Linked DNA regions of Homo sapiens: regions 2, 3, 4, 5, 6 and 7 are each linked to region 1. Evidence: promoter capture Hi-C in human tissues and cell types (Jung and others, 2019). All regions are on one chromosome and are shown on one strand. Each heading gives the region's core, a stretch centred on a gene start or on the middle of the fragment in contact. The rest is flanking DNA. Distances are from core to core; before and after follow the strand shown.

Region 1 (2,700 bases), core at 172-2,671:
GGTTAGAGCAGGCGAAGCGACACGATCTCTTCTCTAGGAAAAGAGGCGTGGTGGGTGCCCAGTGTTTGCGAAGCAGCCACCCATGGCCGACCTCTCGGGTCCACCCAATCGTGGCTATCTGCCTGGGTCCGGGCAGCGCCGGGCGGCCCCTCGCGGGTGGTCGAGGCGCCACGCACAAGAACAATCCCGACCGAAAGGCACGAACCGCCTCTTTTTGACCATCTGGAAAGGTTCTTAAAGGACCCACCGAGTGTTCCCACCCCACAGATACCATTTAAAAATCAAATGGATGTGTAATTCCACAGACAGCTACGAATAAAGATTTAGGACAGTGGGAAAGCCTCATCAAAAGGTACCGAAGCCCTCTGTCTGGCCCCAGCCAGCCACCTTTCCAAGAACCCAGGGCACGCCGCCGCGGCATACAATAAGACAGCCTTTCCCTCCTCGCCTTTCTCCACCACCATCCCCATTGCGCCCCCCTTTCCCGACTCCCCCCCCCGCCACACACAATCACACCACCAGTTCAGAAATCTCGAAGACAATCCAGCTTCGACAACAAACCCGAGAGACACCCAAACACCATTGTGCCCCCAAACACAAATGAAACCTGGCTGGGGGCGGGGGAAGGAGGGCACCTAGCTAGTCACGTTCTGCCAATCTCCAAACCACGCCATTTTAGACGATTTATCACTCCTTTCCTCCCGTCTACTCAAGAATTCTCCAGGATTCTAAGGAACCACTCCTTTGGTGTGGGGGGACCCCGGCTATGAAAAATCCACAATTTAGGCTATCCATTTCCATTCAACTTTCAGACTAGAATCCAGCCACACTCCTCTCCACGAATGAGCCTTGGGAGCCACCAGGAGGGAAGGAGAGAAAGACACGAAATAAATGACCACAACCACAGGTAGAATTTACCTGTCCGTTCGCTTTGGAAGGCGACGAGGCCACAGCCGCCTCCCCAGGCCTCTCCGCGGCGGCTTCTCCCTTCGCTGCGGTCTTGGAGAACTGGGCACCCATGCTGGCTTCTTCAACAAAGAAACTCAACAGATCCAAGAGGGGAAACAAAGAGCCTCGGGTTGGTGTAACGACGGGGCGAGCAGCAGCAGCAGCGGCGGCGGCAACAGCGGCAGCGGCACACACACCGGAGGGAGGGGGGTGGGGGTGGTGGAGAGGACAGAACAGAACCGATTAAATACACTCCGGATAAAAAAATTTTAGTCGAAGAGATCAAAAAGCAGCAGCACAGGAGGGAGGGAAAAAGGGTGGAAAAGTCGAGCACAAAAAAAGGAGCCCAAGTGTAGTTCGAAAAAAAAAGAAGTAATAAAAAAATCCCAGATTTGTAGCCGCACTGTAGACAAGAGGAAAATGGAGAAATCTCCCTGGTTGCTAATAAGATGCGGGGTCCAACGCCCAAGTGCACAGATGAATGGGCTCGCGGGCGCTGACGCGGCCCCCGCGCGCGTCGGCCAATCCGCGCGCCGCACACAAAGCAGGGGGCGGGGTCTGCGCGCCTGGCGAACAATGGAGCCGCGCTTTGCAAACGGTTTGAAAATCAGCCTCAGACCGAGAATTAATGTCCTCCAAATAAATAAATCAATTAAAAAATACATGGCACTCGTCTCTCTCTGCTTGAAAATAATAATGCATTTCTTGATTGGCTTGCTTTGTTTGGAATTAATTAACACGGGAGGGGGGTACTTGTGCATCGGGGCGGAGAAAGCGTTAACTTGACTCGCATTGACTCTCGTCGGTCTATATCCGTGTGTCTCTCTCTCTCCACTCGCTCCCCTCCCCCATCTTTCCGTGTGTTTATGTGTATGTGTGTGTATGCGAGTGTTAAAGACAATGGTTGCGATTTGTGTGTTTGCAGCATGTTTTCTTTCTTTTTTCCATATTGGTTTTACAGATAATGCTCAGGGTTTGTTTTTTGAACTGCTGCAATGGTTAAATCGTCCCAAATTGAAAGGTATTTAAACCACGAAGATCGAATTTCATCAAGCGAGATCGCAAGTTAGAATTAGGTCTGTAGGCCAGATGTGGAAAATGCAAAAGCGGCAAACAGCGAAGCCACACTCCCTTCCCTCTCCCACATTGGCATGAAATAAAATATTTTGAGATTGGCCTTGGGCGCTCAACAAATTCCCCCTTCTCTGGCTATTCCCAATTAGTGATTTTTTTCCCCCACAATTCAAAGTGAGAGCCATTTACAGAAGATCGAAACTCTTCGCGTTTTATCACTGTTTTAAATGACATAATTTTCCTCTATGGTGAAATGAGACACAGCCTCGAGTAGACGAATCCATATTTACAGTTGGGATGTTATTCGCGTCAATATGGATCGTTTTCAGCCTACTGCCAGAATCGAATGGACTCTTTTTGAACGTGTGTGTGAGTGCGCACGCAGGCGAATGTGCTCCTGAAAGGAAGGGAGGCAGCAGCAACGATGACATTCTAAACCGGATTGCAGTTCTAAGGAGAAATGTTCTGTATGTTGAGAGATAGCAAGATCCCTGAGCTCTCCAAGTCTAACTTGGGTTAGAGGAAAACCTTCTATAATGGTACACAGGATACCTCCATCTGTCACTGCACTCCTTGCCACCGAAGTACCAGACGCTTTTTGTGCGTGAGAGACAAGGCACTGACTTAAAGTATGAGGGGTGAGGGGAACCAAGGAAACAGCTTAATAAGCATTTTCTT
Region 2 (2,700 bases), core at 99-2,598, 1.8 Mb after region 1:
CCTCAGAGAGACAAAAAGCACTCCCTCAGGTCTCTCTGATAACCTTTTAAGTCCTGAAAAAGTAGGTAAGAAGTTTGGCTACCATGAATAGGACCACTCAGTTTCTAAACATCACAGCACCCAAGGACACCATTCCCAGAGAAGACTGCTAGAGGACAGGATGAGGTGGGCACAAGGAAGATGAGATTAGGGGTGAAAGCCTGATGATCTGCCAAAGCATGGGACAGGAAGGCAGAAACGTAAGTGGAATGTAGCATGACCCTAGCAGCCGGAAGAAACAGTTGAATCTCTCAAGGAACTTCTCAAGTGTAGTGATGGTGGCTGCTCAGGCTTGAGTCCCTCACCAGCCCAGCCAGACCATAGTTTACAGAGAGCTAAACCAGCAACCTCAACAGAACATGTTGTCAAATGATCCTGTCTAAAAACTGTTGATTAATGAGCTGATGTCAGCCAGATGGAAGGTTATGAAAGCATGGTGTCACCAGGTTGCCCTAGGACCTATTTGTAATATTCCCTTACAGAAAGCTTACACCTGGAAATGTAAGAAATGTGGGAAGGCAATTTATTCAGGGTAAAGGCCTTGGAAGACTAAAGAATTAAAGAATTCATACTGCTGAAAACTCTATTTATCCTTTTAATGTTTTTTTTTTTTTACTTTAAATTTTAGGGTACAATGTGCAGGTTAGTTACATATGTATACATGTGCCATGTTGGTGTGCTGAGCCCATCAACTCGTCATTTAACATTAAGTATATCTCCTAATGCTATCCCTCCCCACTCCCCCCTCACCACAACAGGCCCCAATGTGTGATGTTCCCCTTCCTGTGTCCATGTGTTCTCATTGTTCAGTTCCCACCTATGAGTGAGAACATACGGTGTTTGGTTTTTTGTCCTTGCAATAGTTTGCTGAGAATGATGGTTTCCAGCTTCATCCATGTCTCTACAAAAGACATGAACTCATCATTTTTTATGGCTGCATAGTATTCCATGGTATATATGTGCCACATTTTCTTAATCCAGTCTATCATTGTTGGACATTTGGGTTGGTTCCAAGTCTTTGCTATTGTGAATAGTGCCACAATAAACATACGTGTATATGTGTCTTTATAGCAGCATGTTTTATAATCCTTTGGGTATATATCCAGTAATGGGATTGCTGGGTGAAATGGTCAAATGGTATTTATATCTCAAGATTCCTGAGGAATCACCACACCGACTTCCACAATGGTTGAACTAGTTTACAGTCCCACCAACAGTGTAAAAGTGTTCCTATCTCTCCACATCCTCTCCAGCACCTGTTGTTTCCTGACTTTTTAATGATCGCCATTCTAACTGGTGTGAGATGGTATCTCATTGTGGTTTTGATTTGCATTTCTCTGATGGCCAGTGATGATGAGCATTTTTTCATGTGTCTTTTGGCTACATAAATGTCTTCTTTTGAGAAGTGTCTGTTCATATCCTTCGCCCACTTTTTGATGGGGCTGTTTTTTTCTTGTAGATTTGTTTGAGTTCATTGTAGATTCTGGATATTAGCCCTTTGTCAGATGAGCAGATTGCAAACATTCTCTCCCATTCTGTAGGTTGCCTGTTCACTCTGATGGTAGTTTCTTAAATCTGTAGTGATGCCCCTACTATCATTCCTGATTTGATAATTTGTGTCTTTTTATTTCCTGATAATTCTACCTAGAGGTTTATCAATTTTATTGATCTTTTTTAAGAACCAGCTTTTGTTTCTATTGATTTTCTCTATTATTTATCTGCTCTTATATCATTGTTTCTGCTCTTTATTACTTCTTTCTTTCTGCTTATTTTGGATTTAGTTTGCTCATTTTTTTCTGTTTTCTTAAGGTAGAAGCTTAGATCATTGCCTTGAGATGTTTCTTCTTTTCTAATGAAATAATTTATTGCCTTAATTCTCTCTAAGCGCTACCCATGCATTTTGATATGCTGTGTTTTTGTTTTCATCCAGTTCAAAGCACTTTCTAATTTATTCAGTCATTTCTTCTTTTATTCATGGGTTATTCAGAAGTGTATCACTTAGTATTCCAATATTTGGAGATTCTCTAGGTATCTTTCTATTGTTAACTTATAATTTAATTCTACTGTAGGACATACTTTGCCTACCCTTCCATACTTTGAATACTTTTCAATTTATTGAAACTTGTTTTGTGGCCTACAATATGTTCTACTTGGTAAATTTTCCATGTGCACTTGAAAAGAATATACAGTATTCTGCTGTTCCTAGGTAAAGTGTTCTATATCAATTGTCATGTCCTCTATATCCCTACTGATTCTGTTTACTTGTTCTACCAGCTGAAATCCTGAACTACAAATGTGGAGTTAGTTCTTCTTTCAATTGCATCAGTTTTTGCTTCATGTACTTTGAAGCTCTGGCATAAACATTTAAGATTGTTAGGTATTCTTGATGTCTTGACCCCTTTATCATTATGAATTGTCTCTCTTTACCTCTGTAAATTCTTTGCTCTGAAATCTTCTTGTCTATTATTAACATAGCTACTCCAGCTTTCTTCAGATTAATGTCTGCATGGCATATCTATTTCTATCCTTTTATACTTTTAATTTATCTGAGTCTTAGTATTTAAGGTGGGCTCATGTAGACAGCTCATAGTTGCATCTTCTTTTCTAGCCAATCTGATAATCTCTGCCTTTTAACTGAAATTTAGACCTTCTGTAATTAAT
Region 3 (2,700 bases), core at 149-2,648, 1.4 Mb after region 1:
TAAGGTTCATCTATGTTGTAGCATGTAACAGGATTTTCTCCTTTTTAAGGCAGAATAATATTCCATTTTATGTATAGACCACATTTTCTTTATCTGTTCACCTGTCAATGAACATTTGTGTTGCTTTCACTTGTTAGCTATTGTTAATCTGCAATAAAAATGGGTGTGCAAATATTTCCTTGAAAACCTGTTTTCATTTCTTTTGGAAAATATGATAATTCGATTTTTAATTTTTTGAGCAGCTTTTATGCTGTTTTTATAGGGACTGCACAATTTTGCCTTCCCACCAACAGTGTACAAGTTCCAATTTGCCACATCCTAGCCAACACTTATTTTGTTTTTTTTTTAATTAGCCATCCTGATGAGTGCGAAGTGACATCTCAATGTGCATTTTCCTAGTGTTTTTTGATGTTGAGTATCTTTTCATATGTTTGCAAGCAGTTTGTACATTTTATTGGATAAAATGTCTATTCAAGTCCTTTGCCCATTTTTTCAACTGGATGTTAGATTTTTTTGTTGAGTTGTAGTTCTTTATATATTCTAGATACTAACCCAAGCCCATATCACATGTGTGTTTTCTAAATATTTTCTCCCATCCTGTAGGTTGCCATCTTACTCTGTTGACTGTTTCTTTTAATCTACAGAAGTTTTTTAAGTTGCGTGTGGTCCCATCTCTCTATTTTTGCTTTTGTTGTCTGTGCTTTTGGTTTCATGTCCAAGAAATCATTGTCAAATCTCATGTCATGAAGTTTTTCCACTATGTTTTCTTCCAGGAGTTGCATAGTTTCAGGTCTTGTGTTTAGATCTTTAATCCATTTTAATTGTTGTATATGGTATAAAATAATGGTTCAGCTTTATTCTTTTACACATGTATTATCCAGGTTTTCCAGCACTTTTATTGAAGAGACTAACCTCTCCCTATTGGCACCCTTGCCAAAGATCTTTTGACACTCTATGTAAGAGTTTTATTTTAAAACCACATTCAAATTCTATAAAAAGGCAATAAAATTTCTAGAGATAATTGCGACTAAAAAATGGATTAGAAATCCATTTGCATTTATCTTTTGACTTCTACTTTGAGTGGGAAATGTTTGTCAACAACACTGGAAGTGGTTTTAAACAGAAATCTCCCTGAGTTTCGGGACAAGCTGATTATTCAGCACTATTTGACAGTCACCAACTAATTATTTCCATATTGCCAACTCATGACTAATTTAATACAAATATATAAAGACTAAGAATAGAAAACTATTGAATGTGTTTCCTAATCAATGTATTAATCTATCTGCAAATGAGTTTTGTATCATGAATTCAGTGAAAAACTAGGAAAATTTCTTCCTCTTAAATTAAGCCATGATCACTTTCATTAACACATATTAAAATGTTGTTTACTCTTTAATTTTTATACCATGATAATTTTTCTAGCTATTTTAAAATATTGGTCGTTTATGCCCTAAATATCAATTAAATGATTGAAGATCACATTTTGAAAAGCTCTGTTTTGATTTGTAACTATACAACTGCTAAAACAGTGCTATCCAATATAAGTGTAATGCAAGCCTCATGTATAATTTTAACTTTTCCAGTAGCCACATTTTAAAAAGCAGCAGGTGAAATTAATTTTAATAACATTTTATTTAGCCCAATATATCCCATATATTATCATTTCAATATGGAATAAATATTTAAAATAGTAACACATTTTGCATTCTTTTTTTCATTCTAAGTTTTCAAAATCTGGGCTATATTTTACACTTACAGCTCATCCCAGTTTGGAGTAGCCATATGTGACCAGTGGCTATTGTATTGAACCACATGGTCCTGAAAGCTCAAGCTTAGAAATCACATTTTCTGATCAGAACTTTCTGTCCATTCATTCCTTCCAATATTTTTCTCTCATTAACTCTAAATTTAAACTTCATGGAGTCCTTCCTTTATCCTGTGATACTATCCTTCCCAGGATCCATCGATTCCCTCTTGCCTGTGTTATGAAAGCTCTCGGTTTGCTTGCTCTCTAACCAGTAGGCCTCGCTTGCCAGACCCTTCTACAATGTGGGATCAGTTTAAGGACTCACTTTTCTATTTCTTCTCCAGAACCATGAGCACTACTGAAAAAAAAATAGTCTTGCTGATTAGTACCATCTCACATTGCTTCCATTCACGCCCAGGTGAGTCTTCAATGCTCCACTATGTATTCACTTCATTGTATTCATTCCTAGGCACATTCACTTTCCATTCTCTCAGCAGACAGTCCAAACTTATAGCATGCTCCTAATGTCTTCCTTCCCTCTCAACCCTGTGGATAGCATAGATCCGTACTTCATAAAAAAATAGAGTAGAACATGCACGACAGGCATCCTCCTCTTCAAGGCAAATCCCTTCCACCTGAGCTCTTCATCCCATTCCCCACTGAGATCCTCAATGACTGAGTAGAGAACAAGAAGACAGATGCCATTCATGTTAAATATTGATGTAATTACTCAGTGTCTTACGGAAACTTTAAGTTATAGTTCCTATTCTGGTCAAGATATGTGTTAAGCAAAGCTTTCCAGTCCTCAGTTTCTGCATCTTTAAAGTCAGATTGGATGAATTCTGTTGTCTCTTTTAGCTCCAGAGTTTTAAACTCTACAGTCTCAGCATAATATCAAGCAAGCTTTCAAGTGTTGAACAGACACAGAAAAAAGAAAAATGAGTATGTGT
Region 4 (2,700 bases), core at 83-2,582, 1.3 Mb after region 1:
TACTTTTATTTATAAAAACTATGATGTTGGACTAAACAACACATCCTTGTTGGGTACTCATTGGATTTTAATGAGCATCTGGGCAGACCCTGGGAGAGAGCTGTGTTCTCACAGTGCAAGGGCAGGCTCGATGCTTTCAGCTGTTGGCACCACTCACAGTAGATAGTGTTCTCAAGAGAAAGAGTGTTAGTAAACCTTCATTTGTGTGTGTGTGTGGCTGAAGAGAATTGGCTGCAAAAGAGAAATTCAATTCTCTTATTTCTGAAAGCAGTAAAGAAGTTTCCAAATGACTTCCTTTAATGCATTTGGTAAGTTGCCCTCAAAGACTATTGTTTGAGCATCTCAAAATACAGGCTTAGAAAATCCCCCTTAATAACTGTCATTACAAATAACCTGTTTAATATTTGCAAAGGATGAGTTTATTAACAAATTTCACTACATCCAATATTTGGTAATAATATAGTACCCCTGAGAAATCCTGGGGAGAAGAGGATGAAGAATGAGGAGTTTCAATGGGAGTGGATATAAACTATCCAAATGAAAGCTATTTTAAAAAATGTCCTTGACCACTCCACCAGCAACATTAGAGACCTTGATGGGGTTCACTTTGCTTTCCCAGGAAGAAAAGAATCAAATATAGCTAGAGTAACTACTGGTAGTAAGATATTCACAAACATCTAACTCATTCCATAACTCTGTATATTCTCTTCCCTTCACCTAGAATACCTTTCCCTTCTTACTCTAGTCCCTGTTTTTGTTTTTTCCTTAAACTCTTACTCATCCCTCAAAATTCAGCTCAGTTTTTACCTGCTCTATAAAGCTTTACTCAGGCATCCTAGGCAAAACTTGTTTCTCCCATTTTCGTGTTAAGTATTAGGCATTGCCAGACCATTTTTCTTAGCTCAATTGAAGGTCTTACATCTACTCTAACTTCCACTTAAAGATCTATTGGATTATGAAATATTTTAGAACGACTATTTCTTATTGATTTTGTATTCCCACTCCTAGTATAGTGTTTAATATTTATGAATGAATAAATGAATGAATGAAAAACAAAGCAGGACAAAGAAGAGCAAGGCAAATAAAGCTGAAAAGACTGGACAAAAGAAGAAAGAGAAACAAATGGCACAGGCTGAATATAAGACTAAAAACTATTAGATATTAAAGATTGTTAGAGGTTTGTAACCTCAGGAGAACCAGGCTGGGGCAAGAAAAGACAGACAGTAGAAACATGATATTAAAGAAAATCAATCTATATCACAAACAAAAAGAAGAGGGACAGTGGAGTTAGAAAGATCTTTTGAAAGCCTAGAAATAGAAAGCACTGGGTTAGGGCAAGGCAGAGTCTAAAATGTCAGACTTTTAAGAGCTCCTTATAGGACCCAAATTGGAATCCCACAAGACATAGTGGTGTATTCGGATCCTAAAATATTGCTTTTCTCCAGAAATTACTGATGAAGACCCACGCAGAAGAACTTTGGAAGTTTAAAGAAAATTGATACTTACAATAGGAAAGCTGTTAGTTCCAAGACAAGACAATATGGTATTAAACCTTTATTTAGTGCCTGTGTTGCTGTGAATTAAGGATGGAGTGGCCAATGAGAAAGACGCTTAGTTCACAGGCATTGGCCTGCACTAGGAAGTCTGCCCAGCTCTGAAAGGTTCACTTGTACATGCACAAGCCCTGTGCCACATGGGGTCTCCCTTCTCTAAATTCTTGTGGCAAATGGTATCATCTCATTCACGTCTTGATTCTCTACCAGATTGTAGTTTACTCAGAAAAAGGAACTATTACTGTGCTTCTGGAACCAATCTTGGCATGAAATTGATAGCTGTTTTCTATTGATTGGTTGAGTATTATGCTAGTTTTTTACTGGTTGAGTTTAACCATATAAGTAAGTTAGCACTCAAAGTCTAAATTTCAGCCCTTTGAGATCATTTATTTTAACTGCTTAGTCTCTGTCCCTAATTATTCCATACTCCAACTTTATGGTGGTAGTGAGGAGGGTGTTAATTCTAAAATTGTGTACTTGTATTATATCCTCACTTTTTTTCTAAGCTCTCTACCTACTGTTAATTATGTGGTGTCCTTTTTTTCCCCTCTCAGGGACCTCCTTTCCATAGCTTCCATCCTTCTCCAAGCTTGAGTGCCAGCTCTCTAGGCTGCCACACACCAGTTGTGCTGTTAATTATTTACCTTTATTACTCTTTGATATAGAAATTGTTGCCCAAATTGTTTTCATTTTTGTTTTTAGTTGTCACCATTATTTTCTTGAAGAGAATCCTCAGGAGATTTCCAAAGAAAGGACATTTGCCATATTAATTTTCTAAGCTTGGTTATAGCTATATTATCTTATTATGCTTGAATGGTATTCTGGCTATGTTTAGGATTCTAGAGCAGAAACACTTTTTCTTCCGTCATTGTAGGCATTAAAAGATAAGATTTGAAAAGTCAACCAGAATATAGTACAAAAATTTAAAAAATATATAAAGACATAAACACTCAATTATGGATATAGTATCTGAATATTAGGAGTAAAGGCAAGGAGAATGAAGAGAACTGAGAGAAGAAATTATAAAATTATGCAAAGAAGTTGCTCAGAGTGAAAAGAAGCATGTTTTAAAGGTTGAAATGACCTGTGTACCACTGACCATGATAAAAAGAAACAGACACACACCTGGACAAATTAGTGTGAAGTT
Region 5 (2,700 bases), core at 191-2,690, 1.3 Mb after region 1:
AAAGTATTCTCCAAGGAGAGGAGAAGAAAGAAAGGAAAAAAAGGGGAAAAAGTATGTAAGAAAACCTTACAGAATTACAAAACTAGAGGCTAAAAGGGTAAGTTGTCGTAGTTTTCACTGCTTTTGACCCTGAACTTTTGTAAAAACTACACCCCAGTAACTAAAATTGCCCTCCTTGTGTACAGCAGTATGATAAACCACATATAGAAGCCTTTTCTTTCTCAGACTTGAATGTCTTGGCTTGGTAACAGAAAGGAGCAATTAGCAGCTGTACAGACATAGTCAAATTGTACAACTATCTGAATCTTAGTTCTCCCAGTTAATAAGCTTTTGGGATTATTGTGGCAGCAAAATGAGATAATGTTTATAAAGTATATGACCCATAGTAGGCTTACAAAAAGTAGTAGCTATTATTATTGCTATCATTGCTTACTTTTGAAACGCAAGGTGCTAAATGGTTATAAACCACTGTTTTCAAGCCTAGCAGCATAGATTAGAAGCCTTTATTTCCCTTTACTAGCTACATATCCTTGAGTATTTGCTAAACCTCTCTAATCTTTGATTTCTTCATCCATAAAAGAAGGATAATAAATATTACCTACTTCACAAGGTTGTTTTAAACATTAAATGAAATGAAATACATGAAGTGTTCACAACAGTGTTTGAAAAATTGTGAGCACGAAGTCAATGTTTGCTATTATCGGCAGTAGTTGTAGCGTGGAAAGAGTGGATTTTCAAAAATGAGTTTATTTTGATTGAGAACTCAAATGTTTTATACATGCAGCCACTCAACTGGGCAATTTCGGTGATAGCAGGTACTGGCTGAACATGTCAGTTCACTCAACAGGAGAGATTCTGCTTTTGAGTTTCTTGCCTCACATTAAAAAAGGTGTTTCCATTCCAACTCTGACCCATCTTCCTGGTTAAGACAGACAAACAGGCAGACTGATACCTCTCTCATTAACATGTTTCTATATTCTTTGAGTATAGCCAAGTGGAGATTATATGAATCCTCATAGAGTTTCTCTTTCCTCCACATTGTGGTCCCCAGTTGCACAATGAGTGTTAAGTGGCTGAATGAACAACTCTACAACCATTGAAAGAAAGTTGCTGAGGGGGATGCAGTAATGGATTCTATAGTTGTACCCTGGACTCACACAGCATCGGGTTCAAACCTGGCTATCCCACTTACAACTCATGGCCTTACACAAGTTACTTAAATATCCAAACATCGGTTTTCTTTCAAGTAGAATGTTAGTATAGGTTATAGTCTCTTATCCAAAATCCTTAAGGTGAAATGGGTTCTGAGATTGAGGCTTTTTCAGATTTTAGAATGTTAATGAGAAATATTCTGTATATTATGTGACATCCCAGCCAGAGTCTCCAGCAGTTCCCTTTAATAAAGCATGCTAATATTTCAGCAGATAATGTAGGATTATTCACATTATTACATAAATAAACAACAATTTGCCACCAGTTGAGTTCAGGTGAGGTCATATTCTGCTACCAAATGAATTAGAAAATCAGCTTCCAAGTTGTAGTGGTTTTTCAATTTCAGTATTGCAGGAAAAGTACTGTGAATTTGAAATATTTGTTCCTGCCTCTACGGTGTTTTGGAACCCATTAAACAAAATTGTCACAATAAAGTGACTCTAAGTGATATTGGAGTATGAAGCCATACTCTCTAAAGAAAGAGTATTTATAACCCCAGGGACACTCAAAGACATAGAGTGACGTTTTCATACAGCAAATTCTCATGCAATTGTCTTTACATGCTCTCTTTTAATTGTATGTTAGTACTTTGTCAACTAATTCTTCTTAACTCAGCTTAAGTTCCCTGGTTCTTCATTATAATCACTCCCTTGCATTCCCCCATTTCCTTTGCCCCCTCCTGCTCAATGTTCTCCCTTGTAAAAAGACTAATCCTGATTAAATCCTACTCTTGCACCCACTTTGTGATTTCATTCCCACAGCTGAACATTGCTGGAGTAAACAATACAATCACACTGAATGGTCCGATGTTGAATTCATAACTTTGAATTCAGGTACACCCAGAGAGCTTTCTGGCTCTGCCACTCAGATCCCTTTACCTTCTCATTCTTCTATCTTCTAAAGGACTCTTTTTTTCATCTCCCTTGAAACCTATACTTGTACCCCCATCCTTTTTCTCAGATGATGGTCCTACTTTCTATTTCAATGGGAAAACAGAAGCACTCAGAGAGAAGCTTTCGTAAGCTCCCAGCACCACATCTACCCAATTATCTGCATCTATGCCTAAATTCTCTGCTGTCCTCCAGCTATAAAGGAAGTTGGCTGCCCTGGGCACAATCCTTAGATCATTTCTTCTCTACATCTAGGTTCTTTTCCTGGGTGAATGCAAATGGCTCCTCAACATCTCCACTTGGACATCTACTAGGCACTATAAACTCAAGCCATCCAAACTATACCCCGCATTTCCCCTCAACAAATCTGTTATCCCTCATTGCTGGAAATAGCATCTCCATTTTTGCAGTGTCTCAAATTTGAAAACTTCTATAATACTTAATTTCTGTTTCTCCCCTACCATACATCTCATTCCATCATCAGATCCTGTCAGTTCAAATTTCAGCATGTATTCAGACAACAAGCACTTCTTATCAGCTCCAAGGTCCCATTCTAATCCAAACCACCACCATCTCAAATTAACGCAATAGCCACCTA
Region 6 (2,700 bases), core at 107-2,606, 1.4 Mb after region 1:
GCCTATCTTTTTGGTTTTGAGCCCCTGGATTAGGGGGTCTGGATAGGTGGACATGAGGCCTGGAGACATTTTCTCAGTGTCTAGACCAGCTGCTGCAAGTCAGAGTCAAGTCCAATGTGGCCCCTTCTTCCCTGCCCTAGCTTTGCCTCCTGGCTATTCTGGGAGGGATCAGATCCTCGAGGCACAGTCTTCCCAGATCTATCTTCTGTCCTGAGCTCTACACCTGGTATGTAAATCCAGGTCTCAGAAAGGCTCTGCCCTTCATAGCCATCTTGGAAACCACATGGCTACTTGAGACCGAAGATGACCAGAAAAGACATTAGGGAATGTAGCTGTGTGTATTAGATTGTTCTCACATTGCTGGTAAAGACATACCTGAGACTGGGTAATTTATAAAGGAAAGAGGTTTAATGGACTCACAGTTCCACATGGTTGGGGAGGCCTCACAATCATGGCTGAAGACAAACAAGGTGCAAAGTCACGTTTTACATGGCAACAGGCAAGAAAGTGTGTTCAGGAGAACTTTCCTTTATAAAACCATCAGATCTCATGACACTTATTCACTATCATAATAATGGCACTGGAAAAACCTACCCCCATGATTCAATTACCTTCCACTGGGTCCCTCTCATGACACACGGGAATTATGGGAGCTACAATTCAAGGTGAGATTTGGGTGGGGACACAGTCAAACCATATCACTGTGTCACAGTTTCAAAATTATTTTCAGTAATTTAAAATCTTAAAGTCACGGTATGTTAAATAATAGATAATCATAAAAGTTCAGAGTCATTTGTAAGTTAAAATACTGAAACATTAATTATTAAACATAAGTTTATGTTTATATATTTTGACATCTTATTTTTATATGATATAGAAAAGCTAAATATATTTAGATCTGTTAATAAATAATAATGTAAGGAAACATCTTTCTAAATAATTATAAAATAGTTTTCATCTACAAATACTGATACAAAACAGTTCAAAATTTCTTTCTAGTGTTTTCACTATAAATTAAGGTTACTAAGAGTTAAAATTATTATTTTTATATATAATTAAAACTACTAAATATGAATAAACAATTGCATATACAGAGTTATAAACAAAAGGAAAATATGTTTTTGATGAGCAGTTATAAAGGCATACAAATGTGTGTTTGTTAAAAAACGTATCTGATAACTTTAGGATCATATCATCTGGACTGCATAAAAATTCCCAGAATTCCAGTGAAGACAGTGAATGGTTTATAAAACTGTTAACCCAAGCAGGACAAAAAATAATTGAATACCAAGGAAATACTTTGCCGGATTTTCATGCTAAATCAGCCAGTACTGAAATTGTTAAGATATGCAATTTGAATGAACTCCATGGTCCAAGTCAAATTACCTATGATAACCCATCAGTTATCAGTGTTATACACATGAATTGCAGAAACAAACCTGGTATTTAAGAGAAAATAAATCCAATATTAAGTACAGGCTCATGGAGAACCCAAAAGGCCACCTGATCCTTCCTGAGTCCTTAAAGCTTTCATCACTAAAAGCTCTGCAGTCCATGACTTATCACGAAAGAGATAAAATAATCCAAATCAAATAAATATATATGTTTGTACACAAACACACACTTGTGTATATGTGTCTGTGTGTGGTGACTGTTCAAAATTGCTAAAATAGTTCATGACCAATGTTTGGTTTCTCAAACTCATAGTCCTGGAATAATATTAATAATAAAAACTTCAGCTACATTTCTGCTACCAGATGGGCCAGTGGGCCATTTAAAGATCTATAGAGGAATTTCATTCAGTTGCCATTTTTAATGCATGTTTTCTGGTAGTATAATAGCTTTCCCATTAGATGACTTACTGGCTGAACAGAGAAGTGTCTGTGTAGTTGCTGATACTTCTAGTTGCATATGGAAAAATATATTGGGTATTACAGAGATTCAGTTGTAAGGAATTAATGTATAGGCAGCTTGTTTAAAAGGGGTAAACTCTATCTGGCTCATCATTTGATCTATTTGATTATAGTTGGTTTGGTTCACGGGTACCCTAACTAAATAGCATATTCCAAACTTTTGGTATTATCCTAATGATAGCTATAATAGTAGTCTCCCTCTTGCATTATCTTCTCTCAAAATTTTTAAATGTTTGCATACAGCCATGTCTAGAATGTCAAATGATCTCTCTTCAACTGGAGCAACAAAAACTCAAAGAAATGTGTGAACACAAGGACACTATAAATTAAAAATAACAAACTGAAACCAGAAACCCAAAATGATGGTAACTGAAGGTCATACTAAGGCCTTAAGCTTTTGGTCACAACTTTACCTAAGTGATAATCTGCCAAAAAGTGGGGGGGAGGGGACGGGGGTGGATTTTTTAAATAAAATTATGGAAGATTATTGTTTTTGATGGAAGTCATGCACTAGGCTCCAACAGAACAAACCAGATGAAACCAAAATGGAGTCACTCACGCCAAATGTAACATAATCAAACTAAAACTTTAAGGAAACAGATAGGTCAGAAATAGAAACTAAAATAGACCAAGTTTTGGATTTCTCCTGTAAACGGTATATTCTAATACAAGGAGGTCTGCTCTAACCCTCACAAAAAAAAAAAAAAAATGCCTGAAATTCTTGTCCCCACCTTATAAAACCCACTATTCTGCTATTTACCAGTGGAATTTGAAACCAAATAAGTAC
Region 7 (2,700 bases), core at 57-2,556, 1.2 Mb after region 1:
TGTATCAAAGGGAACACAGTCCTGTCTTTGAAAGCCTTTAAATCCAAATGTAGCGATGGCCTTTGTAAAAGTAAAATGACTTTTCTCTGTAATTCTTTAAAAATATATTTCTATTTGTAAGCTTATGCCAACACAATGATTACTTAAGATGACAAAGAGACCACCCACTACATTACGATCTGTCTTGGCAAGCTGGCAGTGTATTCATCTCATGTTAATTTTGTGGTTTGGTTTGTTCTTACAGGTCTTACAGGTCTTACAGTTCTTATGGGTATGCTTATCACGCCCTGGAGCCCCATCCGGAAAAGATCCTTTCAGATGCTGTCAGTTTATTATGAGGATAATTCACATAGAAGTGACCCGGGCCTCTAGTGCCAGGCCCTGCCTTGTTCCCTTGACCCATCTTATCTGAAGCCACTTGACATTACTACAAGCTAGCATCACAATAAGAAAAATTTAAAGAAGAAACAGCTCAACTACTCCAGGGCTCCGTAAACCATCAGTCTTGCTGCTGATTTACCTCTATTTTTTTTACCCCATTTGTAGTCACTGTTTCCTTGTCTTCTTTTCTTTCATATAACTTCCGATTATGCTAACTTGTCCAAGGTCTTCATTCTTTTAAAAGTAGGTCCCCAACTCCCATATTTATTCTGATTCTTGCACCCAGTGGTGAGGTCTCCACCACTATGTACTAAGCTCCTTTACATCACCTTCTTAGTACAAGGCCTTGGTACTCCTGGATAAACTGCAAGCATGTTTTATAATGCCATCTCTATTGAACTTTTCTTGTTAATTTTTTCATGGACACTTGTATTAGTCAGTTTTTCCAGTTATAATTATGCATAATCAACAAGCCCAAACTTTCAGGCTTACATTGTTCAGGCAAACATTGACTTCTCATTCGTGGGTCTGGGGATTGGCTGCAGTGGGTCTGTTCCAGGCTGTGGGTTGGGTACAGGTTTACTCTTTGTGTTTCCTTATTCTAGGATCTAGGTGAAAAGAGAAGCTTCCATCTGTGATGTGATAATGTCATGGCAGAGTGCAAGAAAGATGAGAAGAAGCACATAATGCCTTTTAATACCATGCTTACAAAGCATGATCTCAATTCTGCACCTTCCATTTGTCAAAGCAAGTCATGTGACCAAGCCAAAAGCCAGTGGGATGAGACACTTTACCATGTCCATGGGGAGTCCTAACAAGGGCAGAGAAGGAAGGATAATTGTGGACAATCTATCACAATATATATAAGCTACTGCATTATGTAAAGGAGGAGGATGGTTTGTTGATATAACATTAGAAGAAGTTGAGATGGTTAATGTTTGTTTTGCACATGGTCAAATAATCTGCTCTTTCAAATATTTTCCAAATAAGCTTACTTGGAAAACATATTACTCCATTTTAGGCCTTGTATCTTTCCACAGAAATATGTTGAATATGAATTCAAGTCTGAAATCATAGGTAGTACTAATGAGACAGAAATGCAACTGATTATTTTTTACTTTTTGTTTGTTTAGTGTTGCTATTACCTGTGTTACCTGCTGTTCAACCACATGCATTAATGTTTCTCAGTTTGATATTCATTTATTCAGTAGAAAACAGTAGAATGTGAAAAGGTGCCTGTTTCTATTTCTGGGACATTTTACTATTTTATTTTTCATTAATAACGTGATACTTTTTCTCTCAATCATTTGTTTTCTTTGTTAAAAACCAAGTTTAATTGTAGGAAATCAACCTATGACTTTTGCACCAAGAGGAAGCACAAAGAAATAATCTCTGCATTTTTTAGATTAATTTTTCTTTTTGTGTGCTAGGAGAAGTAAGGGGAAGTTTGTTGTTTAATGAACAAGTTCAAACAAATTCATAGACGTAAAACCCAAATGAACCTTAAGAGCTCGCCAGCTTGATATCATGTTTCCCTTCCCACAACTAAATAGTATTGTCTCTTTTTACCTGAAACAAAATGCACATCCTTCATTTGTTTGTGGTGACATTCTCCAACCTGCCAATATTTAATTCTTATCTGATTAAATAAAACAGAGAAGCATAAAAAGAAATGCTTATTAAAAAAAAGAAAGAAAGAAAGAAAATGTCTCCATGGCTGGCAAGCTTTCTTGTTTTTCTGTGTGTCCTGGCTAATGGACAAGGATATGTTTTAAAACTATATGATAGTCTTAAGCACATTTGTAATTTTTAACTTACCATCAGAGTACTTTAGCTAGAAATAGTTGTTCCAGAAAAATATTTGAAGAATGAGGAAAATGCACTTATTTATCCAATGACACATAAACTTAGACTCTCAGAATAAACCCTAAATCCTTTGAAACTGAATTAAAACCAAGAAAAACTTTTTATACACAGTGAAAATTAAACCAGAAATTGGCTTTGTGAAATGGTTACCCTAAAATCTCCTACACTAAATGGTGTAACTTAGTATAAGTTTCTTCTGATAGTCAAGAGCTGATTTTTACATGTTGAAGGACAAAAGATATCTTTTATTCAAAATTAATTCAGTTGCAGAAAATCTTGATGCCATATTTAAGAATACACACACACACACACACACACACGCACACATTGGAAAGCTATCTAAGTCCTCTAAATTTTGCCCAACTTGCAGGAAATAAATTTCTTAAATGATAATAATTTTGATAAAATATTATTTTCCAGAAATAAGTGAAGGTAAGCTCTCCTTATTTGGAA

What was found. Contacts are between HindIII fragments. The study calls those that stand out against the background at their distance.
Region 2: a fragment that was not itself captured here is called in contact with the fragment with the promoter of MARCKS in region 1 in 1 of the 25 tissues and cell types used here (dorsolateral prefrontal cortex).
Region 3: a contact is called between a fragment that was not itself captured here and the fragment with the promoter of MARCKS in region 1, in 1 of the 25 tissues and cell types used here (dorsolateral prefrontal cortex).
Region 4: a fragment that was not itself captured here is called in contact with the fragment with the promoter of MARCKS in region 1 in 5 of the 25 tissues and cell types used here (IMR-90 fibroblasts, dorsolateral prefrontal cortex, heart right ventricle and 2 more).
Region 5: a contact is called between a fragment that was not itself captured here and the fragment with the promoter of MARCKS in region 1, in 1 of the 25 tissues and cell types used here (IMR-90 fibroblasts).
Region 6: a contact is called between a fragment that was not itself captured here and the fragment with the promoter of MARCKS in region 1, in 1 of the 25 tissues and cell types used here (dorsolateral prefrontal cortex).
Region 7: a contact is called between a fragment that was not itself captured here and the fragment with the promoter of MARCKS in region 1, in 2 of the 25 tissues and cell types used here (dorsolateral prefrontal cortex and hippocampus).

The regions. Positions count from the first base shown.
Region 1 is chr6:113,856,066-113,858,765 of GRCh38, reverse strand. It overlaps MARCKS (myristoylated alanine rich protein kinase C substrate), which reads right to left and starts at 1,421. Exons shown (of 2, transcript NM_002356.7): 1 at 919-1,421. The coding sequence starts at 1,020. RefSeq lists enhancers at 1,340-1,389, 1,177-1,720, 1,721-2,266, 2,537-2,586, 2,607-2,666. The HindIII fragment of the contact is 5,128 bases long and covers 1-2,700 here.
Region 2 is chr6:112,104,489-112,107,188 of GRCh38, reverse strand. No RefSeq gene overlaps it. Among named protein-coding and RNA genes, the nearest start is that of FAM229B, 18 kb to the right of the region's middle. The HindIII fragment of the contact is 4,320 bases long and covers 1-2,700 here.
Region 3 is chr6:112,494,816-112,497,515 of GRCh38, reverse strand. No RefSeq gene overlaps it. Among named protein-coding and RNA genes, the nearest start is that of RFPL4B, 150 kb to the right of the region's middle. The HindIII fragment of the contact is 4,169 bases long and covers 1-2,700 here.
Region 4 is chr6:112,559,844-112,562,543 of GRCh38, reverse strand. No RefSeq gene overlaps it. Among named protein-coding and RNA genes, the nearest start is that of RFPL4B, 210 kb to the right of the region's middle. The HindIII fragment of the contact is 3,570 bases long and covers 1-2,700 here.
Region 5 is chr6:112,514,115-112,516,814 of GRCh38, reverse strand. No RefSeq gene overlaps it. Among named protein-coding and RNA genes, the nearest start is that of RFPL4B, 170 kb to the right of the region's middle. The HindIII fragment of the contact is 5,625 bases long and covers 1-2,700 here.
Region 6 is chr6:112,461,726-112,464,425 of GRCh38, reverse strand. No RefSeq gene overlaps it. Among named protein-coding and RNA genes, the nearest start is that of RFPL4B, 120 kb to the right of the region's middle. The HindIII fragment of the contact is 5,898 bases long and covers 1-2,700 here.
Region 7 is chr6:112,679,805-112,682,504 of GRCh38, reverse strand. No RefSeq gene overlaps it. Among named protein-coding and RNA genes, the nearest start is that of RFPL4B, 330 kb to the right of the region's middle. The HindIII fragment of the contact is 4,390 bases long and covers 1-2,700 here.